Regions from separate parts of the Homo sapiens genome. Here regions 1, 2, 4 and 5 are each linked to region 3. Evidence: promoter capture Hi-C in 16 types of primary human blood cells and fetal thymus (Javierre and others, 2016). All regions are on one chromosome and are shown on one strand. The core of a region is centred on a gene start or on the middle of the fragment in contact, and the rest is flanking DNA. Distances in the headings are between cores, read along the strand shown.

Region 1 (2,700 bases), core at 75-2,574, 400 kb after region 3:
ACTTAAAGTAAAATTTAACCAAAAAAAAAAAAAAAAGAATGTTGAAAAGGAAAATTACAATGTAAGGTAGCACACTGGCTGACCTTTATGGGCTTACTGAGGACACAAATATAACCTCATACTCCTCTCCTGGAATTTGTAAGGAGAAGACAATGGGGAATAAAGATTTCCCTGACAGCCTAAAGATTTCCCTGACAGCCCAGATTCTGCGGAAATCCCCCTCTCGGTGATCCCATTTCTCAACTTGATTGAAATAACTACCACCCAGATTCCTGGAAATTGCCATTTTACTTATTCAATGGGGAGTTTTATTGCCATGGCAGTGCAGCTTTCATAGCTACAGGATTTCAGCATTATGCTCACCCAAATGATTCTTAAAACTTAAGAGTCACTGAGAAAGGCCTAAGGGCACTTCAGAAAGCAATGGCTTTCCCATTCACCACAGCTTCTGGTATAGATGGCAAAGGAAATAGTGCCCGGAGCAAAACTGAGATGTTTCCCAGTTACCTCTTGGAGCTGACTCTCTGAAAGATGGTTATATTATCAATGCCAATCAGAAACTAGGCATGGAGATTACAGTCCTACCTTCCTCTATGAACACAAATACGCCTGCCCCCACCATCATCCCTCTCTCCATTAGCAATAACATTTACGAATGATATGTGGAGTGGCTCCTGGACCCCTCTCTGATGTTCCCTTTTTGCACAGCAAAATGATGACAGCCAGGGACTGATGATGCAGTTATTTGTACATTAGGCATCAATCTGGAAAACTCCTTCTATAGAAACAGTAGTTAGGCCGGGAAAGGTGGCTCACGCCTGTAATGCCAGCACTTTGGGAGGCCGAGGCGGGTGGATCACATGAGGTCAGGAGTTTGAAACCGGCCTGACCAACACGGAGAAACTCCGTCTCTACTAAAAATACAAAATTAGCTGGGCGTGGTGGCACATGCTACTCAGGAGGCTGAGGCAGGAGAATCGCTTGAACCTGGGAGGCGGGGGTTGTGGCGAACCAAGATTGCGCCATTGCACTCCAGCCTGGGCAACAAGAGCGAAACTAGGTCTCAAAAATAAATAAATAAAAATCTCCTTTTCTCAAACCTCTAGTCTGATGACAGCGATTCTCAGTCCTTAGGCCCCAACGTAGCTCTAAGATCTCTAGACTATCTCAAGAGATACTACATAATTCTCAAATATATCTTTGAAACCGGACTAATTTTAACCCTCTTAAAGCTTATATTACTTAGCATTTTTGTTAAAGGAAGGAACTGTAATAAAATTAAACAAAAGAAAAAAAGTCACAATTCAAGGATCTTACTAAAGATTACTCCTAGCCAAGGCTTCAACAGCAAGCAATGTGATTTGGAGGAAAGGCATTCAACTGTACATCAGAACCCTGGGTCATGGTTTAAGCTTGTCAATAACTAGTTATATCACTTGGCCCAAGTATCCTTTGACTTCTCCAGGTGGGCTCAGTTCCTCATCTATCTTTTCATGACACTATGAATTTGGGATTGATCTAAAAACCTATTGATCTAAAAACCTGACTATTAAACATCTAGAGATAGAACCAGTGATGCTTAGTAAGTATAACAAGAATTCATATCTAGCTCCCCAAGCATAAGCAGAAATTTTCTACAGAAAAATGACTAAAATGGGGGGAAAAAGAAGGAAAGAGCCTCATATGCAAGGTATAAGAATCAAAAGTTAGAGGACCTAAAAGGAGGAGAGTGGAAGCTATGATTACAGAATTTAAACGAAGAGGACTATTAGAAGTCTTCCCTTCCTACTCTCAATTCTCCTTTAAATAATTTTGAATAACGAAAATGACTAAGAAATGGGACAAGCTAACACACAAATAAGCATTCTGGGTAAGAGAAGAATTGTTGTGTGCTATAAAATGGATTTAGAAGAAGAAAGTGAGAATTTTTTTTTTTTTTGGAGACAGAGTCTCACTCTGCCACTCAGACTGGAGTGCAGAGGTGTGATCTCGGCTCACTGCAACCTGGGTCTCCCGGGTTCAAGTGATTCTCCTGCACTAGCCTCCCTCCTGAGTAGCTGGGATTACAGGCGCCTGCCACCACACCTGGCTTTTTTTTTTTTTTTTTTGAGAAGGAGTCTCGCTCTGTCGCCCAGGCTGGAGTACAGTGGCGCAATCTCAGCTCACTGCAAGCTCCGCCTCCCGGGTTCATGACATTCTCCTGCCTCAGCCTCCCGAGTAGCTGGGACTACAGGTGCCCGTCACCACACCTGGCTAATTTTTTTTTTTTTTTTTTTGTATTTTTAGTAGAGACAGGGTTTCACCATGTTAGCCAGGATGGTCTTGATCTCCTGACCTTGTGATCCACCCTCCTTGGCCTCCCAAAGTGCTGGGATTACAGGCGTGAGCCACTGCACCTGGCCACACCCGGCTAATTTTTGTATTTTTAGTAGAGAGAGGCTTTCACCACGTTGGCCAGGCTGGTTTCAAACTCCTGGCCTCAAGTGATTCGCCTGCCTCAGCCTCCCAAAGTGCTGGGATTATAGGTGTGAGCCACTGCCCCCGGCAGTGAGGATTTTTAAAAGGGAAGAAGAAATTAGAAAAACAGAAAGCAGAAAAGAAGGATAAAATACAATCACAACATACTTGCATTTAACTATGCAAACTTGACCAGGAAGAGAAAAATAAACAGTACAAAAGTTTGCTCACAATTCCACTCAA
Region 2 (2,700 bases), core at 100-2,599, 450 kb after region 3:
AGAAAAAAAAAATGGAGTGGGGCCTTTCTATTAACAAAAAGAATATTGTATTAGGAGACCTCAAGACCCCTAAATCAAGCAATCAAAACATTCTGCTCCCTAAGCCACAGCCACAGAAGAGTTAAAACCATCAAACTCCATTTCCTTTCCTCTCCATTTCAAATCATTTGGGGGAGGGGAGGAGGAGTGGAATAGAAAGACAGGTTGCAGTCAAAGTCTGGACAGCTAAAGGCAGGGTGGTCCACTGCATATGTGAACCTCAGAGATGGGAATGATAACTAACCAATAATGTGTGTGTGATAGGAGGGTGTCAGTGAAGGAGAAAAATAAGATGGGGCAAAAGGAGTTAGCAGGAATAGAAACAAGAGGTTTTACACTACTTCAATAGCAACCTCTACTGGCAAATGCAAGGAGGTCCTGGCCACCCTTAAGGTCTAGGGCTGGTAAGACAAGTGAGAGAAAGGATTATGCCCATCCCTGGTCTTACTCTGACTGTCCTGCATTTTTCTCCTGGATTTCCTAAATCTAACCTAAGCCTTTTCTCCAGATTCACTCTAATGAGAAAGTAAGTAGATGGCTGGTACAGTTTTATAGCAAAGAAAATAAATGGCAATTAACAACTGGTTTGCACCAGAGAAGCCAGTTTGCCTAATTAGCCTGCTGGTTCCAAGAAGCTTCTCTCTGCAATACGCCAGCCTTTAATATTTATGTTTTTAATAAAGCCATATCCCCACCTCTCACAAGGTAGCATCCTCCCATCCATCCCCTTTTCAGCCCTCTTCCTACACTTACTATCTCTTTTTCCCAATGTGAAGTCTTGAATCCCACCCACTAAAGGAGAAAACATAACCTGTTGCACAAGTATTTCATTTACGGGCAGTTCTCTCAGGCACACACCCCATCTTGACAGGCAGCCAAGATGATGTCAGCCAGGTAAGTGTTCCCTTAGGCTTCCGGCTCTAAGCACCTGATCTTTAGAAGGGTGTGAAGTACTAACAAAATCCAATCACATCAACATTTACTGAGTACTTGCTAAATGTAGGACATTGTGTTAGGCAAAATTGGGACTAGAAAGAATAAATCACCATGAGCCCAAGCAGCACAATCTAACTGGGCAAATGTGTGATAAGTTAAATAACAAATAATAAAATACAAGTGACGATACACGGCATTTCATGGTCAACTGGCAAATGAGTGGTAGAAATTAATGCTATGAGTTATGAAGCAGAATGAGTTATCATGGGTTAGCTTTCCAGTGGATTAATGTAAAAGGGAGGACTTGAACTGAGCTTCAAAGGTAAGTAAAATTTTACCAGGAGGTGAGGGAAAGACTACAGAAAAGGGTGCAATAGCAGAAATCTTTTTTTTTTTTTGAGACGGAGTCTCACCCTGTCACCCAGGCTGGAGAGCAGTGGCGTGATCTCGGCTCACTGCAAGCTCCACCTCCTGGGTTCACGCCATTCTCCTGCCTTAGCCTCCCGAGTAGCTAGGACTACAGGCGCCCGCCACCACGCCTGGCTAATTTTTTTTTGTATTTTTAGTAGAGACGAGGTTTCACCGTGCTAGCCAGGATGGTCTTGATCTCCTGACCTTGTGATCCATCAGCATCCCAAAGTACTGGGATTACAGGCGTGAGCCACCGTGCCTGGCCCTATGGCAGAACTCTTAAGTATCAAAGGGAGACTCAAAAGTAAGGCAGCCCAGTGCAGTGGTGCAGTCCTGTAGTCTCAGCTACTCAGGGGGCACTGCTTAAGACCAGGAGTTTGAGGCTGCACTGTGCTATGATGGTGCCTGTGAACAGCCACTGCACACTAGCCTGGGCAATGTAGCAAGACCCTGTCTCTAAAAAAAAAATAAAAAATAAAAATGTAAGCCAGATGTATGGTAATAAAAATAAATAAGAGGTAAGGCTCATGAGTCAAGAAGAGACACAACCAACCTAAAGGAATATAAAGGATGTAAAGGTGCAGTTCCAAAGCAAGCCTGGCAAGAAAAAACCTGTAAGGATACAAACCAAAGCTTGAACAGTGGTTACCCTGACCAGTGGGCCTAGGTGGAGAAAATAAAGACTAGAAAAGAGAATTTTTACTTTTTTCTTTGTAATTTCTGCTTAAATGTATTACAGTGAACATGTTTAATTTTGTAATAATACAAAAGAGAGTTACATAAACATAGCAGGCCTATGTTTTTTCCTCTTAATCACTAGGACATTTTTTTTTTTAAGTAACTTACAACATCTCACATCTGACTAGGGCCCCATGGCAAGACTGCAACCAGTAGGTAAGAAATGTGAACTGACTTCACATTCTCTTTCCCAATGAAAACAATAACAGCTCAAAGGAACACAAGTAAAGGTCACTTCCCTGACCCCTTAAGTTGGCACCATTCCAGAACTAGGAGTTTTTAGAGAAAAGGAGACTCAAGCCAAACAGTTCTATTCAAGGAAGTGAAGGAAAAGTATATACTGAGTTAAGAGCTGGAGTTCTGAAGTCCAACAGAGCTACACATAAATGACTGCTCTACCATTTACTGGGTGAGAGAACTTGAGCAAGTTATTTCACTGGCTGAGACCCACTTTTCTCCTCTGCAAAATGAGATAATCTATTTCACAGGGTTATCATGAGAATTAAGTGGATTAATGTATATAAAGTGCTTAACACAGTCCATTCCTGGCACATAGTAAGAAATTAATGAAAGCCA
Region 3 (2,700 bases), core at 78-2,577:
TTTTGAGACGGAGTTTCGCTCTTGTTGCCCAGGCTAGAGTGCAATGGCATGATCTCAGCTCACCACAACCTCTGCCTGCCGGGTTCAAGCGATTCTTCTGCTTTAGCCGCCTGAGTAGCTGGGATTACAGGCATGCACCCCCATGTCTGGCTACTTTTTGTATTTTTAGGAGAGACGGGGGTTTCTTCATGTTGGTCATGCTGGTCTCGAACTCTCGACCTCAGTGATCCGCCCGCCTCGGCCTCCCAAAGTGCTGGGATTACAGGCGTGAGCCACCACGCCTGGCCTGTGATACGACTTTCAAATGACCTGCCAGACTCTCATGCAGATGAAAAGTCTTTTTATAATTATCCAAGCCTAGAAGAAACTTTAAACATAGGAACAGAAAGTATTTCTGTGCCCTTAAACACAAACTAAATGTCCGGGAATGCCACCAGCATGTCAATAGAGGGGATGCTTGTGTTTGGTTTCATTGAAGCTTTACCAAAATGTGCTCATCTTTTCAGAAAATCCCATCACCCATGGATACTGCTTGCATTTCTAGTTCCTGACGATTCTACCTCTAGGTCAACGGTATCCTGAAAACTTCTCAAATCTTTATTGTATTTGGACCCAGACATTTACCTATTGGACCACCTATTATTTTATTTTAACTTATTTTATGTCACCTTCATTTCACAATTTGGCATACCATTTAATTTTTTTTTTTTTGAGAGGGAGTCTCACTCTGTTGCCCAGGCTGGATGGAGTGCAGTGGCACGATCTTGGCTCACCGCGACCTCCGCCTCCCGGGTTCAAGCTATTCTCCTGCTCAGCCTCCCGAGTAGCTAGGACTACAGGCGCATGCCACCACGCCCGGCTAATGTTTTGTATTTTTAGTAGAGACGGGGTTTCACCGCGTTAGCCAGGATGGTCTCGATCTCCTGACCTCCATGATCCATCCGCCTCGGCCTCCCAAAGTGCTGGGATTACAGGCGTGAGCCACTGCACCCAGCCCCATACCATTTAATTTTAAACCTCATGCGTGTGTGCAGGTTAAATGGCTCCTAGGTTCCATTCCCGGGTGATGGGTGGGAGGGTGTTAAGATTTATTTGTTATAGAAAGGGGCCCTGGGGTCTCCCGCAGCCGCGAGCTGGGCGGTCCTCCCGGCGCCAGGGGTCGCTGTAGCGCCGCGCGGCCGCGCCGGGTCGCTCTCGCGTGGCCGCCCCGCCTCGGGCCCCCGGGCCGAGTGGGCGGGCACGACTGCGCCCAGGTCGCGAGGCGCCCTTCGACCAGCAGCGCCCGGGGCGGGCGGGTATAAATGGAGCGGTGGCTCCCTCGGCCGCCTCTCTCCGCCCCGGGTCGCTGCCGCCTCCGCCGCTTTCGGGCTTCGCAGCCTGAGGAAAAAAAGAGAAAAAGATAAAAAAAATCTGAAAACGCTTCAAAATCCTGAAAAAAAAAAAGGAAAAGAAAAAACGAATCCTCGGAGAACCCGCGGGGAAGTCACTTTCGTACGCTTCCGGCCTGCCCCGCGCCCGCCGCCGCAGCGCTTGGCGTCCGTCGGTCTCCGTCCGTCGGTCCGGGGGTGAGCCGCCCGCCCGGCCCGCCGTGCCCTCCCCCCGCTCGGGCCCCGAGCCCCGCGCCCCGCGCCTGCCCCGGCGCACCACGTGTCCGTGCTGCCCTTCGCCGCCCGCCCGGGGCTCGCCGAGTCGGCGCCCACAAAGATTTGGTTTCCCTCTGCCCCGGCGGTTGTAATCTTAAACCGCCGGAGCCCGAGGCCTATATTTATAGAGAAACGCGTGTCCCCGAGGCCGCCGTGGGCAGCGTCCGGTCGCCTCTTAAAGGATTTTTACCCTTCGGAAGGGGATTCCCCGTTTAATTTTTTTCCTACTTTGATTTTTTGAAATTTGGAGCTTCGCACCAGGACCGCGGAGAAGTGCAAAGTCGCGGGGAGGGCCGTATTGTGCGGAGAGCCTTTTGTCTGCGGTGCTGCGGCCGTGGGAGCCGGCCCCCGCCTCCCGTTTCCGTCCCGTCTCCAAGCCCGCCGACTCCAGCTCGTCCTCGCCGCGCCGGTGCCACCTGTGAGCCGCGGCGCGGGCCCGGGCTCCGAAGGCGCCCCTTTGTCCTGCGGCGGGCCCGATAAGAAGTCCTCCTGGCGGGGCTCGGGGTGGTGGGGGGCGGGGAGATGAACGCTGCGGCCAGCAGCTACCCCATGGCCTCCCTGTACGTGGGCGACCTGCATTCGGACGTCACCGAGGCCATGCTGTACGAAAAGTTCAGCCCCGCGGGGCCTGTGCTGTCCATCCGGGTCTGCCGCGATATGATCACCCGCCGCTCCCTGGGCTATGCCTACGTCAACTTCCAGCAGCCGGCCGACGGTGAGTAGAAGCTGTGCCCACACGTGCGTGGGAGCCCGGAGGACCCCGGGAGTCGTCTTCTGGCAGGGCCCTCCTGCCGAGGAGGGCGGCATCACGACAGCATGTTGCCACCGAAGCTGGGAGCAGGGTGCGGAGATTGAGAACGCGGACCTGGCATCAGATGACTCGAGTTTCAATCTTGTTTCTACCACTTGCTAACTGGGTGACCTTGGGCTACTTATTAGTGTTGCTGGTAGTGGGGTTGGAAACCAAGGAGACTGTAAAACAGGATTAGAGTGAAGCCACTGGCATTCCACTGCGTGTGGTCCTTGTCAGTGGGGCTGGGCTGTTAGAGATCCTTGC
Region 4 (2,700 bases), core at 183-2,682, 490 kb after region 3:
TGAGTCTCCACTGCCTCATCTGGCTGCCAGGGAGGTTACAAGGAATGACACTGTTAAGTGCAGTAACGGGCCATGTGAACCTGTGTTTTTCCAGCACATTCTGATTCTCGTTCATTTCCCTTTTACACCCTTTATCACCATCTCCCTTTTATAGATAAGGAAACTGAGGATCCAAGAAGTGAGGTCATTTGCCTAAGTCTTGTAACTCCAGATTCAGTTATCTCCGCAGTGCCTGGCACATGGCAGGAGCTTAATCCATTTTTTTTATTGAATGAATGAATGAAGCAGAGAGGTGCCTGTGAGATGTCTTCTCAGAGCTCCCAACTTGGAGGAGAGACACATGGGCCCAGAGGAGTAAGCTCCAGCTTCTGACCAGGTAGTGCTCTCATGGCTCTCTGTCCCAGGGCAAAAAGGGTAAGATGGGACTCCTGACTACAGAGACCTCCAGAGCTGGTGAGGGAAATGAACCTGGGAACAATGAACGTGAATATAAAGCCAACTGAAACAAGGGCTGTGCAGAGAGACAATTGTCGTCTGACTAGAAGGCCACAATGGAGCAGATGTTGGGAATGATTATTTCAGCAGCATTTGCTGATACTCCTAGGAATGAATCCCATAGATGCTTTCTACTGGCACATAGCTTAACCCCTTTTTTAGTTGAAGGAATGAATAAATGAACAACCAGAGAGGGATCCAATCCTTAGCTCTGAGTCACTGCACTCCCCTTTTTCACAACACATACGGGGATATAATTATTTTTTCCCTTCTAACTACTTAAAAAAAAAATAGAGACAGGGTCTCATAGGCTGGTCTTGAACTCCTTAGCTCTAATGATTCTCCTGCCTCGGCCTCCCGAAATGCTGAGATTACAGGTGTGAGCCACTACACCCGGCCTTTTCTCCCTTCTGTCCTCTCCACTAGACTGAGTTCCATGCAGAAGGGACCACATCTTCAGTCATCTTTGAATATCAATGCCAAGGACAGGGAGGGTCCTGATTATGTGATGTTAGATGAATGAATACCTGATTGATGGGTAGATGGTGGAATCTTCCTGCACCCTACCGTGCCCTAGCCCAAACATGAGCCCTTCTTCAAAACATGTTACTGCCATCTGCAGGAAACTTGTAATAATAAATGTACACGTCTGCAATGACAACAAATGTGATGTGAATCGCACCCCCAAGGGTTGTGCAGTGTACAGCCATGTGACACCCTGTCTTGCACCCTGTTCTCAATATACTCCCCACAGGTCCCAAGGGATACATCATTTCTTCCTCTCTTTGTTTCTACCCTTTGGGGTTGTACTCCTTGCTACAGTAAGCTCCCTAGCGCCCCACTTCCTTGTTGCTCCCCACCATTAAGTAAGGATATTTCTACTGCTCTTCACTAAAGACAGAGAGCCAGAGGGGAAGAGGCAAATTTTCCAAGATCTTTGTCTCTCCCCTTTCCTGGTTCTATAGACCAGGATCCTGAGGCCTTTCCCGGAAGTGACCAAGTCTCTCAGGTGAGTGTGGAGATTTAGATTGTCAACTACAGAAGATTCAGACTGGGCTGGTTGCCAGGTATTGCCTAAGGAAATAGAAATAACAATGTACAGGGCCGGGTGCGGTGGCTCACGCCTGTAATCCCAGCATTTTGGAAGGCCAAGGCAAGCGGATCACCTGAGGTCAGGAGTTCAAGACCAGCCTGACCAACATGGTGAAACCCCATCTCGGGCCAGGCGCGGTGGCTCACACCTATAATCCCAGGACTTTGGGAGGCTGAGGCGGGCGGATCACGAGGTCAGGAGATGGAGACCATCCTGGCTAACATGGTGAAACCCCGTCTCTACTAAAAATACAAAAAATTAGCCGGGCAAGGTGGCAGGCGCCTGTAGTCCCAGCTGCTCAGGAGGCTGAGGCAGGAGAATGGCGTGAAACCAGGGGGCGGAGCCTGCAGTGAGCTGAGATCCAGCAGAGATTGCACCACTGCACTCCAGCCTGGGCGACAGCGAGACTCCATCTCCAAAAAAAAAAAGAAACCCCATCTCTACTAAACATACAAAAATTAGCTGGGCATGGTGGCACACGCCTGTAATCCCTGCTACTCGGGAGGCTGAGGCAGAAGAATTGCTTGAACCCGGGAGGTGAAGGTTGCAGTGAGTTGAGATTGCGCCACTGCACTCCAGCCTGGGTGGCAAAGTGAGACTCTGTCTCAAAAAAAAAAAGAAATAGCAATGTACTTGGAGTTAGAAGATCTGTGTTTACCAGTCCTGTGTAACTATAGGCAAGTCCCCTAAACCCTCTGAGCCTCGGATGCTAACATATGTCCTGCCTAACAGAGTTATTTTGAAATCTCTGTGTAAACCATAAAGCTGATAAACCGAAACAAGACACTTTCATTAGTGACTCTTGTTACATTTGAATGTGGCTGGGCTTAGGGAGTTGAGAATATGGCTGGCAAAGAAGAAGGAGAAACAAATGTAGGGAAAGGATGAGAACAGGAAGATGGGAAGAAGAACAAGGTTCAGCACCCTAAAACCTGTTTGGCTTTGTAGACTGAAATCAGCAGGTTTCTCAGCCCCGACATCCCTCTCTACTCTGACATGTGTGACCACCAGGCTTGCCCCATCAGGCCTCTCAAGCAAGGGCGAGGCCCTAAGACCAGCTCAGGACACGGAGTGGGCCAGGGAAAGGGAAGATCTCTATTTGGTGAGAGTGA
Region 5 (2,700 bases), core at 14-2,513, 380 kb after region 3:
AAGTGAGAGATGCTCTGGTACAGCACTTAGAAAACTCACTCTTGGCCAGGTGTGGTGGCGCATGCCTGTAATCCCAGCACTTTGGGAGGACGAGGTGGTTGGATCACCTGAGGTCAGGAGTTCGAGACCAGCCTGACCAATATGGTGAAACCCCATCTCTATTAAAAATACAAAATTACCCAGGAGTGCCTGTAATCCCAGCTACTTGGGAGGCTGAGGCAAGAGAATTGCCTGAACCCAGGAAGTGGAGGTTGCAGTGAGCTGAGATCATGCCACTGCACCCCAGCCTGGGCAACAACAGCGAAACTGTCTCAAAAAAAGAAAAAAAGAAAAAAGAAAACTCACTCTTAAACCCAAGTGCCTGCCTCTCTCTCTCTCTCTCTCCCTCTCTCTCTTACCAGGGCTGTAAATATAATTTGTGAGCCAAACCTATATTCAAATTCTGATTTCACAATCTCTAGTTGTGTATCTATGAACCAATTACTTAATCTCTTTAATCCATAGTTATCTCATGTCAAAAAGGGATAATAAAATTACCTCTTCACAGTGTTACAGTGAGGATTAAGTGAGAAAATGCATAATATATTTGGCACACAGTAAGCATTAACTATTTAAAAAGCATTAAACATTGACTCATTAATGCCAACTCTTGTTATTATGATTACCACACAAGAGACCTCCTAGCAGGGCATCAAGTCATCCTCAGTGGCAAATGCAAGAAGGTAAGTGAAAGTAATGTGTGGTATTGAACAGCTCAATGACTAAGTCAAATTAGGCTTCGACAGCATTGCTTCAAAAAGGGAAAGGACAAGAATATCTAGTCAACCTCAACAGCCATATTACCATTTTAAGTAATCTCTCTCTCTGGCATTTTGACCCTTTTCCCCAATGAAATAATATCTATCTAGTAAGCTTTTTCCAGGAAACTCTGGTAGCCAACATCTTAAAGAAATGGAGAAAAAAATGATACGAAGAAAAGAAGCCCTGTCTATGGGGACTGTTCCAGAATCTTGCCCAGGATTGTTATTTTTGTCCAGAAATATTCTTTTTTTTTTTAATTTTTGAGATGGAATTTCACTCTTGTTGCCCAGACTGTAGTGCAATGGCACAATCTCGGTTCACTGCAACCTCTGCCTCCCGGGTTTAAGCAATTCTCCTGCCTCAGCCTCCCAAGTAGCTGGGATTACAGGCATGCGCCACCATGCCCGTCTAATTTTTTTGTATTTTTGGTAGAGACGGGGTTTCACCATGTTGGCCAGGCTGGTCTCGAACTCCTGACCTCAGGTGATATCCACCCGCCTCGGGTTACAGGCATGAGCCACTGCGCTTCGCCCATAAAGTTCTTAATACAAGTTCACGCCTTTTGTTTCTGCTCTAATATTTTAAAAAACATAGTACTGAATATACAAAGATGTCACAATAGACAAGGAATCCAGCTCATTTATCACTAGATTAGTGTTTCTCTTATTGAGAGCCTAACCCTCAGTGACCCCTACTGGACAAAGATAGATAGACACAGAAGACTAAGTTTTTAAACAACAAAGAAAACTGTGTTGCTTTTATTCTGATGAAATTCTCACACATGGAACTTTCATTATACAAGTTCAAGCTTGTGTCAAAATCTATATACACCTGTAACATAGAAGGCAACAATGCTATGTCCAGTCAGCTCATTCCTTTTATGGGAAACATTATCACCATAAAGTTGGTTGGCTTCACGGCTGCCTCAACAGGATCGTCAGTATTTATGGTTTTGTGATGAGTCCTTATAGAGAAAATAGCAGACAGAAAAGGAGCAGTCACTGGCACACAACTCCTACCCCTCAGTACCTTGCAATTTTTCCATTCCCCGAGGTGACTCACTCTTAACACAGCCCAGACTACTTGCCAGCAGTCAGGGCCACTATGTGTGCCTGGTGAGTAATGCTTTCCCCAGCGTGCATCCTCCCAGCTGCCTCTGACTGAACAAGTCATAAAAGGAAATCTGGGTAACCATTTTTAAGTTTTTTGTTTTTTTCTTTTTTTGAGACAGAGTCTTGCTGTGTCGCCCAGGCTGGAGTGCAGTGGTGAGATATCGGCTCACTGCAATCTCCACTTCCCAGGTTCAAGCAATTCTTGTGCCTCAGTCTCCTGAGTAGCTGGGATTACAGGCATACACCACCACACCCAGCTAATTTTTGTATGTTTAATAGAAACGGAGTTTCACCATGTTGGCCAGGCTGGTCTCGAACTCCTGGCCTCAAGTGATCCACCTGCTTCGGCCTCCCAAAGTGCTGGGAGCCACCGTGCCTGGCCCAGTTTTAAGAACACATGTCCCATCCTAAACACAAGGATAGCTCCTCTCAGCTCCCTGCAGGGACTCAGAGTTGTAATGAATTCCCTCTAATGGCAGCCAGGTGGCAATGCAGAAACAGGCAAAGGCAGAAAAGCCAATGAGTATGATTAAGCCCTTACTCTCTAAAATCTGGGGACCACAGCTTCTACTTTGGATAAAACAAAAAGTAATGGGCATGAAGCAGAGCCATCTGCTATCACACAGCATCACACCCTGTGGCACAGCCCTGATGAAAAGCCCAATCTCAGAAGAAGGAGGCAGCCTCTTAAGTATCTGTCCATCCATCCTTAGGTGTCCCAAGTAGTGGATGAGGAAAACGACAGCATCTGTTTTTTTGATTAGTGACTGGCACATTAATTGAAAAA

Evidence for each region. Contacts are between HindIII fragments. The CHiCAGO score rates a contact against its expected background, and 5 or more counts as called.
Region 1: a fragment that was not itself captured here is called in contact with the fragment with the promoter of PABPC4 in region 3 in 1 of 17 cell types (fetal thymus); the score reaches 5.8 in fetal thymus.
Region 2: a fragment that was not itself captured here is called in contact with the fragment with the promoter of PABPC4 in region 3 in 1 of 17 cell types (erythroblasts); the score reaches 5.4 in erythroblasts.
Region 4: a fragment that was not itself captured here is called in contact with the fragment with the promoter of PABPC4 in region 3 in 1 of 17 cell types (fetal thymus); the score reaches 5.8 in fetal thymus.
Region 5: a contact is called between a fragment that was not itself captured here and the fragment with the promoter of PABPC4 in region 3, in 1 of 17 cell types (fetal thymus). The highest score is 7.7, in fetal thymus.

What each region holds. Positions count from the first base shown.
Region 1 is chr1:39,175,518-39,178,217 of GRCh38, reverse strand. It overlaps a transcript of MACF1 not described here. Among named protein-coding and RNA genes, the nearest start is that of MACF1, 28 kb to the left of the region's middle. The HindIII fragment of the contact is 180 bases long and covers 1,235-1,414 here.
Region 2 is chr1:39,127,372-39,130,071 of GRCh38, reverse strand. It overlaps a transcript of MACF1 not described here. Among named protein-coding and RNA genes, the nearest start is that of MACF1, 76 kb to the left of the region's middle. The HindIII fragment of the contact is 1,345 bases long and covers 677-2,021 here.
Region 3 is chr1:39,575,417-39,578,116 of GRCh38, reverse strand. PABPC4 (poly(A) binding protein cytoplasmic 4) reads left to right here and starts at 1,327. Exons shown (of 16, transcript NM_001135653.2): 1 at 1,327-2,358. The coding sequence starts at 2,166. RefSeq lists a silencer at 1,073-1,382 and enhancers at 1,883-1,952, 2,453-2,502, 2,523-2,642. The HindIII fragment of the contact is 4,726 bases long and covers 481-2,700 here.
Region 4 is chr1:39,087,286-39,089,985 of GRCh38, reverse strand. It overlaps a transcript of MACF1 not described here. Among named protein-coding and RNA genes, the nearest start is that of NDUFS5, 62 kb to the right of the region's middle. The HindIII fragment of the contact is 5,136 bases long and covers 1-2,700 here.
Region 5 is chr1:39,191,476-39,194,175 of GRCh38, reverse strand. It overlaps a transcript of MACF1 not described here. Among named protein-coding and RNA genes, the nearest start is that of MACF1, 12 kb to the left of the region's middle. RefSeq lists an enhancer at 2,126-2,668. The HindIII fragment of the contact is 697 bases long and covers 915-1,611 here.